Regions from separate parts of the Homo sapiens genome. Here regions 1 and 3 are each linked to region 2. The links are contacts of gene promoters, found by promoter capture Hi-C in blood cells and fetal thymus (Javierre and others, 2016). All regions are on one chromosome and are shown on one strand. Each heading gives the region's core, a stretch centred on a gene start or on the middle of the fragment in contact. The rest is flanking DNA. Distances are from core to core; before and after follow the strand shown.

Region 1 (3,509 bases), core at 165-2,664, 260 kb after region 2:
TTCACGCCATTCTCCTGCCTCAGCCTCCTGAGTAGCTGGGAGAACAATTCCATTGGCTGAAAAAAAAAAAAAGAATGCTGTTTCAGGAGAGACTTGGGAGGTACAGGAGAAACATCAACACCTCAGGATGTTGGATAAAATGCAAACCCTTTTGAGTGTGTTGAGGGTTTTGATGGAGAAATTTTGTAAAAGGAGCTGCAATGCACTATTTTAGTTCCCCCTTAACTCCTCTATGCTACATTTCAGAGCTCCCAATTGAGCTCCTCACCTGCCCTGGTCACTTTCTTTTCCTTTTTCCGTGGGAGAAAGATTGTATTTCACTTGAGTTATACCAACCAGATTTCCTGAGCTAAGACCACCAAGGATGTAGTTGTGATAAAAAGTGAGAAGGCTAGGGGTGAGGGTGCCTTTATAAATGGCCACTAGTCAGACCAAGAGTTGTAGTGCCTTCAAAATCATTACATAGGCTGGGTGCAGTGGCTTACACCTGTAATTCCAGCTCTTTGGGAAGCCAAGGCAGGAGAATTGCTTGAGCCAAAGTAGTGAGACCTGGTCTCAACAAAAAATCAGAAAATTAGGTAGGCATGATGGCCTGCACCTGTGGTCCCAGCTGCCCAGAAGGCTGAGGTGGGAGGATTATTCGAGCCTGGGAGGTAGAGGCAGCAGTGAGCTGTGATCATGCCACTGCAATCCAGCCTGGGTGACAAAGCGAGACCCTGCCTCAAAAAAAAAAAAAAGTTGCCATATTGCTCTAAATTAGTGATGTGCCTGGAAGTCACTCTGCTGGACACTTCTTCTAAAGGGTAAAGTTCTGGCATTGGGAGAAAAAAAAAAAGACCCCTCCCCGCTGAGAATGGTGACTTGGAGCCGTGATACAAGAAGCGAGGCCCCAATCTGCCTGGCTAAAATAGTGCCATGTCCTGGATTTCCTAGGCAATGTCCTGTGACCTCTTAGCAATCTCTCTGACTGATGGTGACATCAATTTCATAATGGATGGCCACGACAGGGTCAGGTGGGAGGGCTAGGGAGGGCTAGCCTCTAGACTTCTCAGAGCTGTCCTTCTATAAGGACATTGCTTTGCTTCCTAGGTCAGCTGCAGGTGGGTAGGATGGCAAAAAATTCTTCTATGTTGAAGTCTTTCAGGACAGAACTGTGTCTGATAATTTAGTATTTGGGCCTTCAGGGACATAAGGGATAGTCCTGAAGTTTTGCTGGCTGGTTAAAGCTTTTTAAGCTAATACATATAAAATGAAAATATGCCCCTTCCTACCTTCACCAAGGAAAAAGAGTAGGACTCCATTCCATTTCCCACAAATTTAGTGGCTTCAAACAACATAAATTTATTGTCTTAAAATATTATTTTTATTATTAACTTTTAAAGATGGGAACTCTGTCACCCAGGCTGGAGTACAGTGGTGCAATCATGGCTCACTGCAACCTTGAACTTCTGGATTCAGGCAATTCTCCTGCTTCAGCCTCCCATGTAGCTGAGATTTAGGCATGAGCTGCCATGCCATGCAAATTTATTATCTTGAAGTTGTGGAGGTCAGGTGTCCAAAATGAGTCTTTAGGGATAAAATCAAAATGTTGGCAAAGCTTTGTTTTTTCTGGAGTCTTTATGGGAGAATCATTTTCATACCTTTTCCAGCTTCTAGAAGTTACCCAAATTCCTTGGCTCATGGCCTTTTCCTCCATCTTCAAAGTGCATCACTTCAATCTGCTTCCATTGTCTCATCTCCTCTTTGACTCTCACGTTCCTGCCTCCCTCTTGTAAGGACCCTTGTAATTGCATTGAGCCCATCCAGAGACTCTAGGATAATCTCCCCATCTCACAATCTTAGCCTAATCACATCCACAAAATCTCTTTTACTATGTAAGGTGACATATTTATGGGTTCCTAGGACTAGGACATGGACATCTTTGGAACCGTTATTCTGTCTCCCATACTTACTAAAAAAATAATAGTAGCACAGAGATATAAAGTAAAAAGTGAATTCACCTCCAATAATTTTGACTGCTTCTATTATCTAGTTCTTTGGCTTATTTGACATGAAATGCTAGATAACTTGCTTCTATATCTCTATTTCTTAATTCATCAGCTTAAAAAAATATATATTAACTTTCTGTGACAGAAACAACCAATGGGGAAAGGACTCCCTATTCAATAAATGGTGCTGGGATAACTGGCTAGTTACATGCAGAAGACTGAAACTGGACCCCTTCCTTACACCATATGTAAAAATTAACTCAAGATGGATTAAAGACTCAAATGTAAACCCTGTAAACCCTGGAAGAAAACCTAGGAAATACCATTCTGGTCATAAGCCCTGGCAAAGATTTCATGACAAAGATGCCAAAAGCAATTGCAACAAAACCAAAAATTGACAAGTGGGACCTAATTAAACTAAAGAACTTCTGCACAGCAAAAGAAACTATCAACAGAGTAAACAGACAACCTACAGAATGGGAGAATATATTTGCGAACTATGGCATCTGACAAAGGTCTGATATCCAGAATCTGTAAGGAACTTAAATCAACAAGCAAAAAACAAACAAACAAAAAACAAAAACAAAAAAACATTAAAAAGTGAGCAAAGGACATGAACACTTTTCAAAAGAAGACATACACACAGCCAACGGGCATATGAAAAAATGCTCAACATCACTAATCATTAGAAAAATGCAAATCAAAACCACAGTGAAATACCATCTCACACCAGTCAGATTAGCTATTATTAAAAAGTCGAAAAACAACAGATGCGGCTGGATGCAATGGCTCACGCCTGTAATCCCATTACTTTGGGAGGCCGAGGCGGGCGGATCACCTGATGTCAGGAGTTCAAGACCAGCCTGGCCAACATGGTGAAAATACATCTCTACTAAAAATACAGAAGTTAGCCAAGCGTGGTGGTGCATGCCTATAATCCCAGCTACTTGGGAGGCTGAGGCATGAAAATCGCTTGAACCTGGGAGGTAGAGGTTGCAGTGAGCCAAGATCGTGCCACTGCACTCCAGCCTGGACATCAGAGTGAGATTCCGTCTAAAACGACGACAACAACAACAACAACAACAGCAGATGCTGGTGAGGTTGCACAGAAAAGGGAACACTTATACACTGCTAGTAGGAATATAAATTAGTTCAGCCACTGTGGAAAGCAGTTTGGCAATTCCTCAAATAACTTAAAACAGAACTACCATTTGACCCAGCAATCCTATTATGTATATACCCGAAGTAATATAAATAATTCTACCATAAAAAACACATACATGCATATGTTCATTGCATTCAATAGCAAAGACATAGAATCAACCTACATGCCTATCAACAATAGACTGGATAAAGAAAATGTGGCACATATACACCATGGGATACTACACAGCCATTAAAAATTAGTTCATGTCCTTTGCAACAGCACAGATGCAGCTGGAGGCCATTATTCTAAGTGAACTAACACAGGAACAGAAAATCAAATACCGCAGGTTCTCACTTATAAGTGAGAGCTACACA
Region 2 (3,410 bases), core at 651-3,150:
TTTTTCAAAAATTTAATCCCAACTGTTAGAAATAACCTACAAGAAATCCAGTGAGGCCTACCTACCCAGAGATAAGTGATTCACCTGACAATATGCATCACAAGTCTTAACTCTCATTTCATTAGTCCTATCCAGAGACCACATTTTCTACTTAAGCAATACTTAGAGGCACATCTCTCAGCAAACACAAACCAATTGGACAATTTAAACTAGCACTATTCAACCATAATGAACTCTGGTTGAAAAACAGTCTGTCCCTACTTGCATATTGTAGTGAGATGAGATTCCACTCTTCATGTCAGAATGGCACTTACATGAGTCAAAGTGTCTAAATGAAATAATTTAAATGGAACAAAGTCAAATACTTACATTTTATTTTTAAATTCTCCTCTATTTGCAGTTATACTTTAAAGTGTACTCCCTTCTCTATCCTATCATGAGGACTGGACAGCCTCCACAGAGATGGCTGGACAAAGCAAGGGAATTTACTTAGGTAAGACACCATTTCTCTTTACTCTGAAATCCCTGCAAATGTAGTTATTCCAGAGGAGACTGTGCAATGACTGATGGGTTTAGCATCCTACATGAGGGGAAATTGCCATTCCCAGCTGTAAAATGAACAAATATCCAGTTATTTTTTTTAGCCATCTTACAGCTTAGCTAATATAACAGGATTTACAGCCAATTATACATGAAAGTTTAATTCTGTGTCAGATAAAGCATATCTTTGATGCAGAAATAGAGGCAGCATTAGGCCTTACCTGGTTAAAAGCTTTTTGCTTTCTATTCATTCATTCGTTCATTCATTCATTCAAACCTATACTTACTGAATGCTCACTAAATGCCGGGGGTTTATTAAGAGAGATTTAAATAAGATGGGATCTTTGACTATTACAGGTTTCAGCCTAGGGGTAAATTAGGGGAAGACAACCATGTATTCAAATAAATGTAATTAAGAGTAATGGTTGTGTGTGTATTTTACATGCTTGTCCTGTGTAAATAACACGTCCACGGTTGCACCTCTGGGGTGGAACATCTATAAAATTTAGATAATGATACCCACTTTGCATGGCTATTGTAATGAATGCTCTTATACATTTGCTATTTATTAAATAACTATAATTTCTCATCTTTCTGTTCCCACTGCCCTTAAGAGTGATTTGCATATTTAACTCAATAAGCATCTACTGAAATGAGTTGATCTGTTGATGTAAGTCTGCTCAATATGGTCTTGCTCTCAGAATATGTTTCTTGCCTTTTTGATGCTTTAGAAGGCTTTCAAGGTAAGTCAAGCAGGGAACCTGGTGGGTAGATGAGGGAATTTTCAAACACACAACTGTCTGATTTAGGATCCTACATGGACTTGGTATATAGTGTCACTTACTTGTAAATCAGATTTTTAAAATTGGAAGCAACTCTGTGATCATCTAGTCCATCTAGTCTACACCCTTCCTTTTACAAATGAAGAATCCAAGAGCCAGAAGCTCCCAGACATCCTGACTCAATGTCCTATATTTGTTGTATAGCCTCCTTTGTGGAAGTTATGTATGCATTTGACTTCACTTAATCTAAGACATCTATTTTCCTTGAACTCTTGATAGGTCTGCTGGTTTCCTCAAGGGAATCCAATCTAGCTGGATTTTAATCTCTTTGAATTGTGTCCTCAGCTATAAAAGTTTTAGCTGAGGTTTTAATGGCTGCACTTAAGTAAATCTAACAGATATACCAGGGGGTGTTCCAATTACATACACCATTAAAGGGCTTTATGTGAGGATTTTTAAAAATTACCATTAAAAAAAAAAAAGCATAGTCCATTTGCAGTATAATTTACCAGCAGGAAAGATTTCAATGTCCTGGAAAAATTCCCTATAAAAAGGAAGATAGGAAAACAGAAAAGTCACAGTACTCAACCTACTTCAAGGGAAGATTGGGATCTTTTTGGCTCTCTGCCTCTAAACAGGTAAAAGGCTTTGTATTATTTCTAGCACGAGTTTTTCTTCTTTAGATTGCATGCTATTGTATGTCTACAGGGCATTTGACAGCCCAAGGGCTAAATCCAGGTGTGACGGTATCTAATGATGTCCTGTCCTTCACTGTCCTTGCCATCACCAGCCACAGAGATCCAGGCTTTGGGGACTCCCACAGCTTATCGACCAGTGTTTGATTTAGTTTTTAGCCTCTTTCCCATCAAATGAAAATTAACTTGGAGACACATTTCATTAGAAAATTAGAGGCCCCCTTGGCTAGGAAGGCATCTGGTCTGGGACTAACTACTTTGAACAGTGTTGAGTCCTCTCTCCCACAGATGGTTCAGCCAGCAGTAATGCTAGGAAGACTGAAGGATAAATAGAAAAATGTCATTAGTACCATGGGGTAGCCATGTAATGTCAAGCAATTTTATATTAGCCAGAGATTCCTAGTAGGAGCTACTTTTCTTAACAGATGACTCAGTTCTCTTTATCTCAGGAATGAAAGAGTTGAAGACCAATCCACAACAGGGGAAATGTTAAGGCAAAATGATGAACTTGATAAGGGATGAATTATGGGGTTTGGATAACCAAACAATAAAAATAAAAGTATAGACTATTTTAGTACTAAAAAGGTCCTGAACATGTGAGCTTAAGTACTCATTTTGTCCCCAGTGGCTAAGAAACTAAAGGCAAGCCAGCAAGTGTCTCTGAGTTTCAGTGTCTGTATGTAAAAACTGACTCTGACTTCCATCTTCTGCAGGGTTAGTGATACAGATGCTAGCTTTTTCACTAAAGAGGTCTTTTAGTTTATACTCAACCTTGTCTGGATCTAATTTGATTGTGCATTCATGTGCCTTAGAATGAAGCCAATTCAAAAACTCCTAGCTGGCCTTATTCTACTGACTTGGTGCGTGGAAGGCTGCTCCAGCCAGCACTGGTCCTATGGACTGCGCCCTGGAGGAAAGAGAGATGCCGAAAATTTGATTGATTCTTTCCAAGAGGTAAGTTTCTCTCAGCTTCAAAATAAGACATAGTGATTTTATTCAATTTAACTATATTAAACATTCAGGATAGCCCCAATGTCAATATTCTATGATGTTGTACCCTAGATGCTCCAGGTGAGATAAGGCACTTACAAAGTAGAAGTCCCATTCCTACTTTCAGTTCACACAGGGACTAAACAAAGAGCTGGAAAAATTCCAAAAGAATATATTAATAGCAACAAGTGTGAGACAGCACGTCATACTCTGAGTGTATGGGATTGCTAAAGGAATTAGAAACAATGGGATAGGGTCAAGGTCTGTATCAGAAGATGATTCTTTGGGATTTGGAAAAAACGTTAGAACTTCGTTTTTTTTTTCCTCATTTCATCTTTTAAACATATCTATGCTATTAGATCAGTACATTTTTATAATTTATAAATGAGTATCCTTATCAAGG
Region 3 (3,824 bases), core at 317-2,816, 290 kb after region 2:
TTAATAATACTGAGACTTCTGATCCATAAAAATGGGACATCTTTCCATATATTTAGGTCTTCTTTAATTTCTTTCAACATTTTATAATTGTTAGTATAAGCTTTGCACTTATTTTGTTAAATTTATTTATTTTATTATTTCGATGTTATTGTAAATGCACTTGTTTTCATTTTTGATTGTTAATATGGCTTGGCTGTGTCCCCACTTAAATCTCATCTTGAATTGCAGTTCCCATAATCCCCAGGTGTCATGGGAGGGACCCAGCGGGAGGTAATTGGATCATGGGGGTGGTTACCTCCATGCTGTTCTCCTGATAGTGAATTCTCGTGAGATCTGATGGTTTTATAAGAGGCTTCCCTCTCAAGCTCTGCTTTGCTCTGCACTTCCTGCTCCTGCTGCAATTGTAAATTTCTTGAGGCCTTCCCCAGCCCTGCAGAACTGTGAGTCAATTAAACTTCTTTCCTTTATAAATTACCCAGTCTTGGGTATTTCTTCATAGGAGCATGAGAACGGACTAATACAGTTGTCCTTTGCTAGTGCATAGAAATATAATTCATTTTCTTATGTTGATTTTGTATCCTGAAAACGGATAAATTCATTTATTGGTTCTAATAGATTTTTGTGAATTACTTAGGAGTTTCAAGACACAGTCTGGAAATAGAGATAGTTTTACTTCTTCCTTTCCAATCAAAGGGCTGTTTATTTCTTTTTCTTGTCTAATTACCTCCATTAGAATATTGAATAGAAGTGCTGAAATTGGACATCCTTGTCATGTTCCTCATCTAAGGAGAGATCTGTCAATATTTCAGCATTAAGTATAATGTTAGCTGTGGCTTTTTCACAGAAGTCTTTTATAAGGTTGCAGAAGTTACCTTCTGTTTTTAGTTTATTGAGTGTTTGTATTATGAAATGTTGGATTTTGTCAGACTCTGTGTCTATTGGGATGATTATGTGGGTTTTTGCTTTATTTATTAATATGGATTATTATATAGATTAATTTTCATATGTTGAACCAACCTTGCAGTCCTGTGATAAATCACACTTAATCAAAGGGTATAATCCTTTTTATATGTTGTTGGATTTGGTTTGCTAGTATTTTGTGGATAAATTTTGCAAATATATTCATAAGTGATATTTGTTTGCAGTTTTCTTGTGATTTCTTTTGCTTTCAAGGTGATACAAACCTCTTAGAATAAGTTGAGAAGTGTTACCTCTTCTTCTATTATTTGGAAGTTTGAGAAGCATTGGTGTTAGCTATTCTTTAACCATATAGTAAAATTTACCAGTAAAGCTATTTAGGCCTGGTCCTTACTAATTCATTTTTTAAAATTAATACTTGTTACAGGTCTATTCAGATTTTAGATTTTCTCTTTGGTCCATTTCAGGACTTTCTGGCTTTCTAGGAATTTCTCCTTTCATTTAGGTTATCTAATTTGTTGGCATACCATAGTTCAAAATATTCTTTTATATTTCTTTTTATTTCTGTAAGGTCAATAGTAATGTCTCTTCTTTCATTTCTGGAATTAGTAATTTGAGTCTTCTTTTTTTTCCCTTGGTCAGTATAGCTAAAAGATTGTCAGTTTTGTTGTTCTTTTTAATAAAATACTTTTTGTTTTATTGATTTTCCCTGTTTTTCTATTTTCTGTCTCATTTATTGCAACTCGAATTTTTATTTTCTTTCTTCTGCTTTTAATTTAGCTTCCTCTTATTTTTCAAGTTTCTTAAAATAGAACATTAGGTTGTTGATATGAGGTGTTTATTCTTTTTTAATATAGGAATTTATACCTACAAATTTCTCTCTAAGCACTGCTGTAGCTGTGTCCCATAGGTTTTGGTATGATGTATCTTCATTTTCATTAATCTCAAATTTTCTAATTTCCCTTATGATTTTCTTCAGTTCATTAGTCATTTAATTGTATATTGTTTAATTTCAATGTGTGTGCATTTCCCAAATTTCTTTGTATTGTTTTTTTCTTTTATTCCACTGTGGTTAGAAAGCATACTTTGTATGATTTCAACTTTCCTAAATGTATTGAGGCTTGGTTTATGACCTAGCATATAGTCTATCCTGGAGAATCATCCATGTGAACTCGAGAAGAATTTGTGTTCTATCTTTTTGAGTACATTGTTCTATAGATGTCTGTTAGGTAGGATTAGTTTATAGTTTTTTTTTTAGTCATCTTATTGCTCTTCAGCCTGCTTTCGACCCACTATTGAAAATGGGATATTGGCTGGGTGTGGTGGCTCATGCTTATAGTCCCAGCACTTTGGGAGGCTGAGGTGGGTGGATCACTTGAGGTCAGGAATTCGAGACTAGCCTGGCTAACATGGTGAAACCCCGTCTGTACTAAAAATACAAAAATTAGCCTGGCGTGGTGGCAGGCGCCTGCAGTCCCAGCTACTCTGGAGGCTGAGGCACAAGAATTGCTTTAACTTGGGAGGCAGAGTTTGCAGTGAGCTGAGTTTACACCACTGCACTCCAGCCTGGGTGGCAGAGCAAGACTCCATCTCAAAAAAAAAAAAAAAAAGAAAAAGAAAATGGGATATTGATAACTCCAACTATTACTTTTGAATTACCTATTTTCTCCTTCAAAATTTTCCTTCTCTACTCTCAGTCTTCACATCTTTCAAGTCCTTTCAATTACGCTATTGGACGCCATACGGAATCTGTTCTTTGAACACTCATTGATGTCTTTAATGTTTTCATTTACCACAATTTGGATAATCTGGGCCATCCATTACATCTTTCTGAAGATCCTTGAGAGACATTTCTGGCCTGATTTGGCTCGATAATGACTGGTCCAGTCTGTGCAGATATTTTGCTCTGTGAATGCAAGTTTCCAAAAAGATTTCCCAAAGGCAGGTAGAGCAAGTAGAAAACCACGAAGGCAACTGCCCTCCATATTGAAAGATCCCATCTGGGTTGCTATGGCCAAGTGAGAGAGAGATCAATGACACTCTTTCTGGGCCATTCCTGAATAAGAAATCATGTCAAGTTGCCCTCAAACAAATACTTTCTATAATGAAGCTTTCCTGAAATTTGAGTTATTTTCTTGGTGGTTGTCCTGGATTACCACTAGCATGCTTACAGGAATCTAGTTTGAATTCATGTTTATTTAAACTAAAAAGCTTTGGCACAGCAAAAGAAACTATCAACAGAGTATACAGAAAACCTACAGAATGGGGGAAAATGTTTGCAAACTGTGCATCTGACAAAGGTCTAATATCCAGAATCTATAAGGAACTTAAACCATTCAACAAACATAAAACCAATAACCCCATTAAAAATGGGCAAAAGACATGAACACACACTTCTAGAAGACATACAAGTTGCCAATGAACATATGAAAAAATGCCCAACATCATAATCATCAGAGGAATGCAAATCAAAACCACAATGAGATACCATCTCACATCAGTCAAAATGGCTACTATTAAAAGTAAAAAAATAACAGGTACTGGTGAGGATGGACAGAAAAGGGAACAGTTATACACTACCGGTGGGGAAGTAAATTAGTTTAGCTACTGTGGAAAGCAGTGGGGAGATTTCTCAAAGAACTTAAAACAAAACTACCATTTGACGGAGCAATTCCAGTACTGGGTATATACATGAAACCAGATAAATTGTTCTATCAAAAAGAGGCATGCACTCATATGCTCATCATAGCACTATTCACGATAGCAAAGACAAAGAATCAACCTAGATGCCCATCAATGATAGGCTGGGTAATGAAAATGTGGTACATACACACCATGGAATACTATACAGCCATAGAAAAGAACCAAATTATGTCCTTTGCAGCAGCTGGAGGTCATTATCCTAA

Evidence for each region. The method cuts DNA at HindIII sites, captures the fragments that hold promoters and counts their contacts. A CHiCAGO score of 5 or more calls a contact.
Region 1: a fragment that was not itself captured here is called in contact with the fragment with the promoter of GNRH1 in region 2 in 1 of 17 cell types (neutrophils); the score reaches 5.2 in neutrophils.
Region 3: a contact is called between a fragment that was not itself captured here and the fragment with the promoter of GNRH1 in region 2, in 1 of 17 cell types (neutrophils). The highest score is 7.5, in neutrophils.

Annotation. Positions count from the first base shown.
Region 1 is chr8:25,157,289-25,160,797 of GRCh38, reverse strand. No RefSeq gene overlaps it. Among named protein-coding and RNA genes, the nearest start is that of DOCK5, 26 kb to the left of the region's middle. The HindIII fragment of the contact is 371 bases long and covers 1,229-1,599 here.
Region 2 is chr8:25,422,751-25,426,160 of GRCh38, reverse strand. GNRH1 (gonadotropin releasing hormone 1) reads left to right here and starts at 1,900. Exons shown (of 4, transcript NM_001083111.2): 1 at 1,900-1,960; 2 at 2,830-2,971. The coding sequence starts at 2,831. The HindIII fragment of the contact is 12,746 bases long and covers 775-3,410 here.
Region 3 is chr8:25,136,399-25,140,222 of GRCh38, reverse strand. No RefSeq gene overlaps it. Among named protein-coding and RNA genes, the nearest start is that of DOCK5, 46 kb to the left of the region's middle. The HindIII fragment of the contact is 2,928 bases long and covers 103-3,030 here.